Linked DNA regions of Homo sapiens: region 2 is linked to region 1. Evidence: promoter capture Hi-C in 16 types of primary human blood cells and fetal thymus (Javierre and others, 2016). All regions are on one chromosome and are shown on one strand. The core of a region is centred on a gene start or on the middle of the fragment in contact, and the rest is flanking DNA. Distances in the headings are between cores, read along the strand shown. Region 1 holds the start of CALML5 (calmodulin like 5). Region 2 overlaps ASB13 (ankyrin repeat and SOCS box containing 13).

Evidence for each region. The method cuts DNA at HindIII sites, captures the fragments that hold promoters and counts their contacts. A CHiCAGO score of 5 or more calls a contact.
Region 2: a fragment that was not itself captured here is called in contact with the fragment with the promoter of CALML5 in region 1 in 1 of 17 cell types (erythroblasts); the score reaches 5.1 in erythroblasts.

What each region holds. Positions count from the first base shown.
Region 1 is chr10:5,497,355-5,502,784 of GRCh38, forward strand. CALML5 (calmodulin like 5) reads right to left here and starts at 2,216. Exons shown (of 1, transcript NM_017422.5): 1 at 1,343-2,216. The coding sequence starts at 2,084. The coding sequence ends at 1,644. The HindIII fragment of the contact is 4,911 bases long and covers 1-3,291 here.
Region 2 is chr10:5,652,099-5,657,528 of GRCh38, forward strand. It overlaps ASB13 (ankyrin repeat and SOCS box containing 13), which reads right to left. Exons shown (of 6, transcript NM_024701.4): 2 at 765-952. Among named protein-coding and RNA genes, the nearest start is that of ASB13, 12 kb to the right of the region's middle. The HindIII fragment of the contact is 1,363 bases long and covers 2,157-3,519 here.

The sequences.
Region 1 (5,430 bases), core at 966-3,465:
CAGATGCACACACAGACACACACAGACTCACGGACACATAGACACAAAGACACACACACACAGACACAGAGACACATACATGCACACACAGACACACACAGACTCACGGATACAGACAGACACACACACATAGACAGTGACACACACACAGACACACACAAAGACACACAGACACACAGACACATACAGACACACATGGACACAGACATTCACGCAGACCCACAGATAGACACAGACAGACACACAGATACACAGACACAGACACAGACAGACACACACACACATAGACACACAGACACACGGATAGATAGACACACAGACAAAGACATACCTAGACACACACACACAGACACAGATATACAGACACACAGATACACACAGATACATACACAGGCACATACACGAACACACAGACATACCTAGACACACAGATACACACACAGAGCCACACACAGACACACATATACACATACACAGACACAGACACATATGCACAGACATAAACACATATACAGACACAGACACACACAACACACAGACACACAGACACACAGATAGGCACACAGACACACACAAACACATACACAGACACACACAGACACACACAGATAAACACACACAGACACATAGACACAGAGACACACACACACAGATAGGCACACAGACACACACAAACACATACACAGACACACACACAGACACAGACACACACAGATAAACACACACAGACACATAGACACAGAGACACACACACACAGATACACACACAAAGCCACACACAGACACAGACACACAGATAAGACACACACACAAATGGACACACACAGACACATAGACACAGAGACACACTCAGACACACACACAGATACACACATACACATGCAGATGCACACAAGGACACACAGACACACAAACATACAGAGACTTACACACAGATGCACACATACAGAGACACGCATACAGACACACAGACACACACACAGATGCACACACAGACGTACACGTATATTATTTGCAGCCGAAGAGAGGCAGGCTGCGTGCAGAGGCTGGCAGCTGGGCTCCGTCTGTCCATGCGAGGCGCCCGCTCCTGTTTGTGCGGGACACGTGCCCAGGTCCTCACCAGCAGCTCAGGCAGAACCTGGAGCCACAGACACCGCCCAGCACCATCCTCACACATCCTCTGCCCACCTGCCCTCTGCTCCGCGTCAGGGGAGGCAGGAGCTGCCCCTGGGGCCTGCTCCAGGCAGTTCTGCCACCGCAGGTGAGAGGGGTGGGCTGGAAGGAACCCTGGAAGCAGGTGGGGGCCCTCGGAGGCAGCCGCCCCACAAACACCAAGCACACATGGAACTCGGCAGTCCTTTATTTAGATCAATGCGGGGCTGAGGGGCCCTCATTCCACTGCAGGGCAAAGGGGGACCAGGCCCAAGGAGGCCTCCTTCTGCCCAAGGTCTGGAGGCAGAGAGGGGCTCGCAGGCGGCCCGAGGGCGCCGCATCCAGGCCCCGGAGCGCAAAGCCTTCCTCCCAGGGGGAGGCAGTTTCCCATCCACCGACCAGGTTTCCCCGGAGAGTCCCAGCACAAAAGCAGCAGCGGGCGGTGGCCCTGAAGGCTCAGAGCGCAGCCAGGGGGACACAGGCGGGGAGCCTCACTCCTGGGCGAGCATCCTCGCGAACTCCTCGTAGTTCACCCGCCCGTCCTGGTCCACGTCGGCCTCGCGGATCATGGCGTCCAGCTCCTCCTGCGGCAGCGGCTGCCCCAGCCCCGCCATGGCCCGCCTGAGCTCGTCCACGGTGATGTGGCCGTCGCCATCCTGGTCGAAGGCGCGGAAGGCGACCTGCAGGTCCTCCAGGCCGGCCCTGGCCTTCTTCGCCGCCGTCAGGAACTCCTGGAAGCTGATTTCGCCGTCGCCGTCGCTGTCAACCTCGGAGATGAGTTTCCTTAGCTGGGCCTCCGAGAGGTTCTTGCCCGTGGCCTTCAGCGCCGCGCCCAGCTCCTGGGCATTGATGGTGCCGTTTCCATCCGTGTCAACCGCGGAGAAAGCCTTTTTGTACTGGGCCTCCTCCTCAGGAGTCAGCTCACCGGCCATGCCTGCGTCTCCTGCACCTCGCGGAGCCTCCGAGCTGCTGCCCACCGGCCCTCAACCTGCTGCTCTCAGAGCTCGTGGTCCAGAGTGCAGGCAGCCGCAGGGATCCGGGCAGCGTCTGTCCCAGACAGTTCTGCCTTGGCATGGGAACCCCCTCCTTTTCTGCAATCGGAACAAAGGGAGGAGGGAGGCTCCCCACCCTCCAAATGCCCTGGGGTGAGAGCCTCCTCCCAGGGAGGGCCAGATCAGCTGCAGACAGGAAATGCAGGAATGGGAGTTGGGAGAGCTGTCAGGTGCCAGGTGGGAACTGCCATGGGGTCGGGGTATCGGATGGCTAGCCTGCCAACCCCGCCTGGCCTTGATAGCAACCACCTCCCTCCAGGAACATTCTGCCCAAGGGATAGTTTCCCCTGCAGCTGATTCTCGGAGATCCTGACCAAGCCAAGGGGTTCAAGACAGCTTCTGCAACTTCACAAAGACTGAGACTGGAGGGGGAGGTGGCTTGAAGAGGGCTCCCTCAAGGGCACAGCAGGCCCCAGTGTTTGGTGTTTCCGTACCCCTCTCTCCAGTGCTACTGCCTAGCTCTTGCCCTGAGGCTGGGGCTGGTGGAAGGGAAGTGGGTGGTAGTGTTGATTCTGCCAGGGCACAACTGTGGGTATCATGAGATTCCCAGGCCAGGGTCTAGAGACAGAGGATGGGGCTCACTGCCTATAACTTCAAGGAAGCAAGGGACCAGGGCTGCCTTCAGAGCCATAGCTGGTGCTGAGATGGTGTTTATCAAGTGAACATGTGACGTGCAGTTTCAGAGGAGAGGGAAAGACTTTTTGTCTCCCCAGAATACTCCCTTCTAGCTCAGGGATTCCTACAATTCAATTCCATCGCCAAGTCCAAGGTTCCCTGTGCAGACACCCTGGGAGCTCAGTGGCAGGCGTTCCATTCACAGGGCGTCAAACAGTTACAGCTGGAGTTTTGCTGCAGCGAGACACGGGGGACCTCAGTGCCCAGCATACCCCAAAGGTGCAGGCAGAGGTGCAGGAGGATGCAGAACAGGTGGCTGCCATCAAACTTGGCCCTCCTTGTGGTTTTACTAAGCATCAGCCCTAAGCACAGAGACCCATCTGGGAGCCTACTGGGGTCCTCAATCTGATCTGTTCTCTGGAAGGAAACCCCCAGGGCCACTTGCCTTGACCAACTTTTAGAGCAACAGCTAAGCTTTCGGGGGACCATCCCCAAGTCCTTCCACTGATGTGATCTACAGTTGTGAGGGGACATTTGCCTTGGAGTCCCCAAAATGCCTTTCCCAAGCAAGTCCCCTCTGATCTCCATAGATTCCCATTCTTCTCCCCAGCCCCTGCCCGTACACAGGGAACAAACTCCTTTATTCCCCTGGGAAAGTTTATACATTCCACCTCCCTCCTGTTCAGCCCATCAAATAGACCAAGTGCCCTCTCCTTCCCTAAAGTGCAGCCAGACAAACACCTCCCAGCCCCTTGGTGCTGCACACATTCTCCAAGGGAAGCCGGAGGCTGGGGTGCCCAACCACGCACTCCATGACCCACAGCTCAGTCCCCCAGGACCACACAAGGGGCAAACCAGGCAGAGCAGTGAGAGGAGGGAAGATGCCCCAGCCAGCCCTAGTGTGGCAGCTGCTCCCTGAGCTGCATGTGAGGGGCCAGAGGGAGGTGCAAAGGGCTCGGAAGCACCACAGCAGAGGGAGAGGCTGAGGTCTGCAGAGAGGGAGCTCCGTGGACCAGGTACAAAAGGGAAGGTCATGGTCAGCAGGGAGAGGGAAGGAAGGGGGTCACCCCACCGGAGTTCAGGGGGACCCAGCATAGACAGAGAGATGCAGAGAGCAGTGTCCCAGTTGTCTAACTCATTTTATAAAGATAGCTTGAAGATTTTCTAGCTCACCTCAGTGGTGGAATAATACAGAGGCCTCAATAAATATTGAGCAACCAATTTCTCAATGAAATTGACAACCGGTTTGGGGTGGAGAACGTGGTTCTGGCCAGGAGATGAGAACAGAGAAGCATCCTGCCTGGTGAGGGGCCCAGGGAGGGCGGGACTCTGAATAGCTGGATTCAGCCCAGCTCCTTGTTTTATTTCCTTAAAGAATACCTGAAGATTTAAATCTATAGTTGAAATTTCCTTTCCTTCTGATCTTGTTGATGGGACCTGTGATTAAAATCCAAAGGCTTAATAATTATTTCATGTCATTTTCCCCAGGTATTAAATACTACTTTGCAAACAATATTAGGAGACTTGAGCTCCCGGTTCCAGTTTTGTCAGTGATGTGGAAACGTGTGTCTCAATATCCACATCTATAAACTAGGATGATGCACCCACCATATCTGATCGGAGCGTGTAGGATCAGAATATTAAGTACAGAGCCAGCAGCAGGTGTTATTATTCTATGATAAACCTCATGTTAATAACGAGCTGATTCATGTTTGATGTAAACCAACACTCGGGAAAACATCTACTTGAAGGGGAATCTCACAATTTTGTGATTATACCTCTTTTGATTGAACGGAAAAATTAAATGCGTCCACCTCGAGGTTTAGTTAAGTCCAACATGCCAAGGCTCAGAGCATTAGCTGACTTTTCAGTGTCAGCTCCAGACAGAGGCAGTTCCATGCAGAGCAGAAGCACCTATTTAGAAAAAGCCTCAGGCTGTCTCATCACGAGACAGGATGATGGTCACTATTCTCACGATGTGCGTTTTCTAGATGGAGAGAGGCCGTGTCCATAGGGAAAGTCCCCTGACTTCCCGCTGCGTGTTTCCCCATCCGGGGTCATTTCCTCCCTAACACATTCTCTTTTCAGGGCATGTACAAGCACTGAGATTGTTTTTTTCATCCTCCCCTCAGCCTCCCACCACAAGTGGCTTGCAAGTATGCAAGCCGTCAGCTGCCTTGGCTCAGCCTCTGTGGGTGAAGTTTCCACTCCCCTCCTCTGGGTTCAGCACTAGGGACACCAAGGACGGCCATGCCTGAGTGACCCGCACCACAGACGGCCTGGCACAGCCCAAATGGGGGCTCCCGAAGAGGGACAAGATGGCATTTGTTGTCAAATCTAGGCAAGCTTGGTCAAGCCCCTCTGCCTTGGCTGGTTTAGCACGGCAGTTGGGTGCAGAGCCTGGCTTTGAGGAGGGAGAAACCCTTCTTTCTAGCTAAGGTGCATTCTCAGGCGACGCCTTCTGCGTGTATCCCTGTGTGATGCAGGGGCCAAGGGCATCACCCGTCCTCCACTCCATAAGGAGCCTGAAGCTGGGGTGCCCAGCCGCTGGCTCCACATCCCACAGCTGAGCTCCCCCGACCCAGGGGCCATGTGCGAAGCAAACCCAGCA
Region 2 (5,430 bases), core at 1,588-4,087, 160 kb after region 1:
CTTACCACGCCTCCCCTAGTGAGAAAGTCAGAGGCCAGGAAAAAGGCAACTCCCCAAATTGGCAAATTTTATTTAGCATTTGTCCAAATTCAAATTCTATTTGGGTACACACTGAAATCGGTTCCATTCCAACCTTTTGGGAAGAGTAAACAGTACACTGTCTTCCCTTCTTCCTCACCCCTTGAACTCTGAGACCAGGTCCCTGTGTCACTTATACATTGGCCAGGGGTGTGCAGGGCCAGTGTTTGCCAGCTCGGGAGAGCTGGCTGCCAATGTGCCAGGAATTCTGCTGACCAGAAACCCCCGGTGGCTTAATACTAGCCAGGGTGGGAACATTTACACCAGGGAAAGCAGCAACACAGTTTTGTTTTTGTTCCTTTTTTCAGAGAGCTGGCTGGCCAGCATCCCACTGAGTTATCCTAAAGCCGGAAACCTGCTCTTTGGGCCCAAGCAGCAGCTCTGCACCCAGGCCTGGCTGCCCCTGAGAGAGCCTGTGTCTAGGCTGCGGCCAGCCTGCTGGCTCCTGCCCACCACAGGGCTGGCACTCCCATCATCAATTTGCTCAGGCTGCCCTTTCTTCCACCACCGTGACCTCCTAACAGCCAGGTCCACGAGCACTTCTCAGCCATGGGCTTCCTGGTACCTGTGTGCAGTGGACACAGTGCAGCCCCCATCCTCCCCTCTTTCCCAAGTTCTCCTGAGTCAACCTCCTCCATTCTGGCAGCTGCAGCCAGTCTGGGGGTCTGCCCTGAAGGGCCACTCACCTGGGCCCCAGCCGCCAGCAGCAGCTGCACACACCGCGCCTGGCCCTGCAGACTGGCTGCGTGCAGGGGCGTGATGGAGTCCACGGTGACCTGGTTCACGCAGGCGCCGCTCTCGATCAGCTGTTGCAGCTGCAGGCTCTCACCCCGCTGGGCTGCCTCGTGCACAGGGGTCCGCTCCACCCAGAAACCTGGAAAGGAAGGGGACCTCAGGCTAAGACCCTGCCACTTCCATCCAGGACAAATGAGCACACGTAAGACTCCAGGGTCCCTGATGCCACCAAGGCACCATCCGTGATCATGCAATTGTCCCAGCACTTCTACAAAGATCCCTGAGCCACCCCCACTGCCTGACAGCTGGAGTCCAAGCTCCTGGGCAAGGCCTACAAGGGGCTCCGTCCTGTGGACCCCGCTCACCTCCACAGTCCACCTCCCACCCCTGCCCCTGCATATTCTGCAGGCACAGGTGCTCACCACTCCCCTGCAGTTGCACATCCTTCTCTGCTGACATGCCCACCTTTGCCCCCCTGCCAATTGTCCACTCTGCAATTTCCTGGTGAAACGTTTACATCCTCCAGGTGGGCCCAGGTAAAACAACTTCTCTGGGAAACACTTCCCACAATGCTCACGCACACACGCTCAGACCCCTGCATTTACAGTGTCTCCTGCACTCGAGTGCCTTGAGAATCCCTGTTTTAATTATTCCACTTTAGTGGCTTCCTCAGGCTTGTCTATATACAAGGTCATGTCATCTGCAAACAAAGATCATTTAACTTCTTCCTTTCTAATGTGGATGCCATTTATTTATTTATTTATTTATTTATTTATTTATTTATTTATGAGACGGAGTCTCGCTCTGTCACCCAGGCTGGAGTGCAATGGTGTGATCTCAGCTCACTGCAACCTCCGCCTCCCGGGTTCAAGCGATTCTCCTGCCTCAGCCTCCCAAGTAGCTGGGATTACGGGCACACACCATCACACCCAGCTAATTTTTCTATTTTCAGTAGAGATGGGGTTTCACCATACTGGCCAGGATGGTCTCAAACTCCTGACCTCAGGTGATCCACCCACCTCAGCCTCTCAAAGTGCTGGGATTACAGGTGTGAGCCACCACGCCCAGCTCTTTTATTTCTTTTCCTTGTTGAATTGCTCTGGCTAGGACTTGCAGTGCAATGTGGAACAAAAGGGGTGAGAGCCAACATCCTTGTCTTGTTTCTAGTCTCGGGGGAGAGCATTTAGTCATTCACCTTTAAGGACGATGTTAACTGGGTTTTCTTCTTTTTTTCTTTTTTTTTTTTTTTGTCTCAGTCAATCATAGGGATCCTATTTCCCATACAGCATCCAACACAACTCTAGCTAAGCAGAGGTGAGGGAGAGTCTGCGAAGAGGCCTCCAAGCTTCCACACTCTGCTCACTCCCAAGAAGGAGCTCCAGGGGAAGGCTGTCTCCCTTCCTTCCCTGGATACTGCCTGGATGTGAACTTGGACCTGCTGAGCCATCTGGCTACCTGCCTGAAGACAGGACCTACAGGAATGGCAAAGCCGGGAAAGGACTGGAACCTGGAGGACGAGTCAAGGACCATCAGGTGCCTGGAGCCAAGACAATGGCCGGGCTTAGTCATGTTTCTTTATTGTCTAAACCAGGTGCAGACAAAAGCTCGCTAACTGGTACAGACCGTAAACTCCCCAGATGCAGAAACCACGCACGTGTTTTCTCAGCACCCATCTCAGACACGGAGGAGTCTTCCAGACACTTTAAAATGTCACAAATGACAACAGTGCTGGATGAAAGCTGATGACATATCCTTATTGTCAACTCTCCATCTTCGAGCAGACAAGATCACATCACACACCTCTTCTCAATCAGCAGTTTCCTCTTACTATTCTGACATGTCCCTGAAAAACCTTCCTATCACCTGGATCTTCCCCAGATCTTACTTTTACACAGTGCATCTGGGCTAGGTGCGGTGGCTCATGCCTGTAATCTCACCACTTTGAGAGGCTGAGGCGGGCGGATCACTTGAGGTCAGGAGTTCGAAACCAGCCTGGCCAACATGGTGAAACCCCCGTCTCTACTAAAAATATTTTTTTAAATTACCTGGGCGTGGTGGTGCATGCCTGTAATCCCCGCCACTTGGGAGGCTGAGGCAGGAGAATCACTTGAACCCGGGAGGCGGAGGTTGCAGCGAGCCCAGATCACGCCACTGCACCATAGCCTGGGCAACAAGAGTGAAACTCTGTCTTTAAAAAAAAAAAAAAAGTGTCTGCATCGAATTTCCTCTGCAGGTGGGTAGCCTCATCAGTTAGTGCTGACGACTCTGCTTTTAGAGATCCCCACATTGCCACCTTCCCCCACCTCTGCCTTGGGCACTGAGTACAGGGTTAAGAGTTCCCTGGAGCCACAACTGCTCAGAACTGCTTGGTGGAAACTCAGCTCAGCCTTTTATCAGCTTACCCAAAACACAACTTCCCTGAGTGTCAGTTTCTTTACCTGTAAGTTGTGATAACAATAGTTTCTCTTCATAGGTGGACTATGAACATTCAGTGAATTGAAATAGGTAGATGCACTTAAAGGGTGGGGCCTGGCACCGAATCAGTGCTCAATAAACACTGTCTGTTTGTAGTATTTTTGCCTCCAATTGTAGCTATCTGTCTTGTCCACAGCCAAAGAGCCCGGGTGACCCTATGTCAGTGGAAGTGGGGACTAGGGAGAACTGAACCACAAAGGAAGATTCGATCCCCACAAAATGTAAAAGTCAAGCTTGTGGAACTTTCTACTCACCGTCTCCAGGTGGCCCTCAGCCCCACCAGTAGTAATGAACAGTAACCCACTGCCCTCCTGAGGTTAGTGAGAAGTGGCTTAGTGTCACTTTAAAATCAATCCGCAGGGAGCAAAATCCTAAGGGTAGAAGGAGAGGCTGCCACTTGAAAAAGAAGAGGAAGGCAGGGTAAGGCCTAGGTCTTGCAGCAAAAAAAGAAAGTGCATCTCAGGAGGCCACCTGAGCCGGGAAGGCGCGTTCCCGACGTGCCTCCATTCACAAGACGTCCAGGTGGATTTAGCGTCTTCCGCTGCCACACGCAAAGATGACTAAGATGCAGCAATAGGCAGCTCACAGTCAGGGACCAGGGAATAAATGCGCAGATAATTCACAACATGACAACTGCGATCATGTCTGGTGACAGGGACTCAGAATTAAGAGCCCCGGTGCCCAGGGATGGCCAGGGAAGGTCACAGAGGCCGCAGAGCTGCAGCCGGGTCTATCTCAGGCACCGCTTATTCACCTCTGTACCCCAGAACCTGGCACTGTCCAAGAAGATGCTGGTATCCACGTGGTTGCTCAGTGAGTGAGTGGATGAGTAAATGAATGGAAGGAGTTACTAAAACCAATTATAAAGTCTGACTGGTCAAGGTGGTTCAAGCCTGTAATCCCAGCACTTTGGGAGGCCAAGGCGGGTGGATCACGAGGTCAGGAGTTTGAGACCAGCCTGGCCAACATGGTGAAACCCCATCTCTACTAAAAATACAAAGAATTAGCCGGCCGTGGTGGCACGTGCCTGTAATCCCAGCTACTCAGGAGGCGGAGGCAGCAGAATCGCTTGAACCCAGGAGGCGGAGATTGCAGTGAGCTGAGATCGCACCATTGCATTCCAGCCTGGGCAACCGAGCAAGACTCCGTCTCAAGAAAAAAAAAAAAAGTCTGTAGCAGTGAAACAGCAAAAGAACTAACATTTTTGTTTGAGGGGCCTTTATCCATTCTTACACAGAGGCTAGGATAATTTTAGAGCATTAAGATAATATGCAAAAAGAGCAAACGTGTAGCTTTGAAATTAACTCTGGGATTAAAAGGAAAGCATGTAAACAACTAGCTATGTTTTGTTAAAGATTTATAGGAGCACTGCGACCTGATCAAGGACAAAGATGTTCCCAACCTCCTAGGACCTTCACTGGTGCCCAGATGTCACTGGTCCTTGGTTACCTCTTGATCCCAACAGCCTCTTTTTCCCACTGCCCTTAACATAATTAAGAACCCGAAACCTGTACTGACTTAGACGGCACTTTAGACACTTATCTACCATCTTCCTGGTTTGCTGGCTCTCCAGATAAACCTGCCACCAACTCTTGTCTCTCGTATTTGGCTTTTGAGCAGTAAGCAGCCAAATCTGGGTTCAGTTACAACTAGACATAAAATTTTTAAAAGAAAATCTAATTTTATTTCTCTGTATCACCAGTCTACAAAGGAAATGCAACTTATTTCTAGTGAATCACATCAGCTGCTGTAGTCTTACTGCAGCAATTCAGGGCAAAAATTAGCAGCAGACATGATAAGAAAAAAAGAAAAAAGAAACTTCCGTGCATCAAAGGGCACAATCAGAGTGAAATGGCAACCCACAGAATGGGAGAAAATATTTGCAAGTCATATATCTGAAAAGGGGTTAGTCCAGAATATATAAAGAACTCCTGCAACTCAAAAACAAAAAAAACAAATAACCAGGTTTAAAAATGGGCAAACGAGTTGAACAGACATTTCTCTAAACAGGATGCACACAGCCACAAACATAAAAAAAAAAGGTATTCAAGGTCACTAATCATTAAAGAAATGCAAATCAAAACCACAATAAGATACTACCTCACACCTGTTAGGATTATCAAAAAAAACCAAATACGTGTT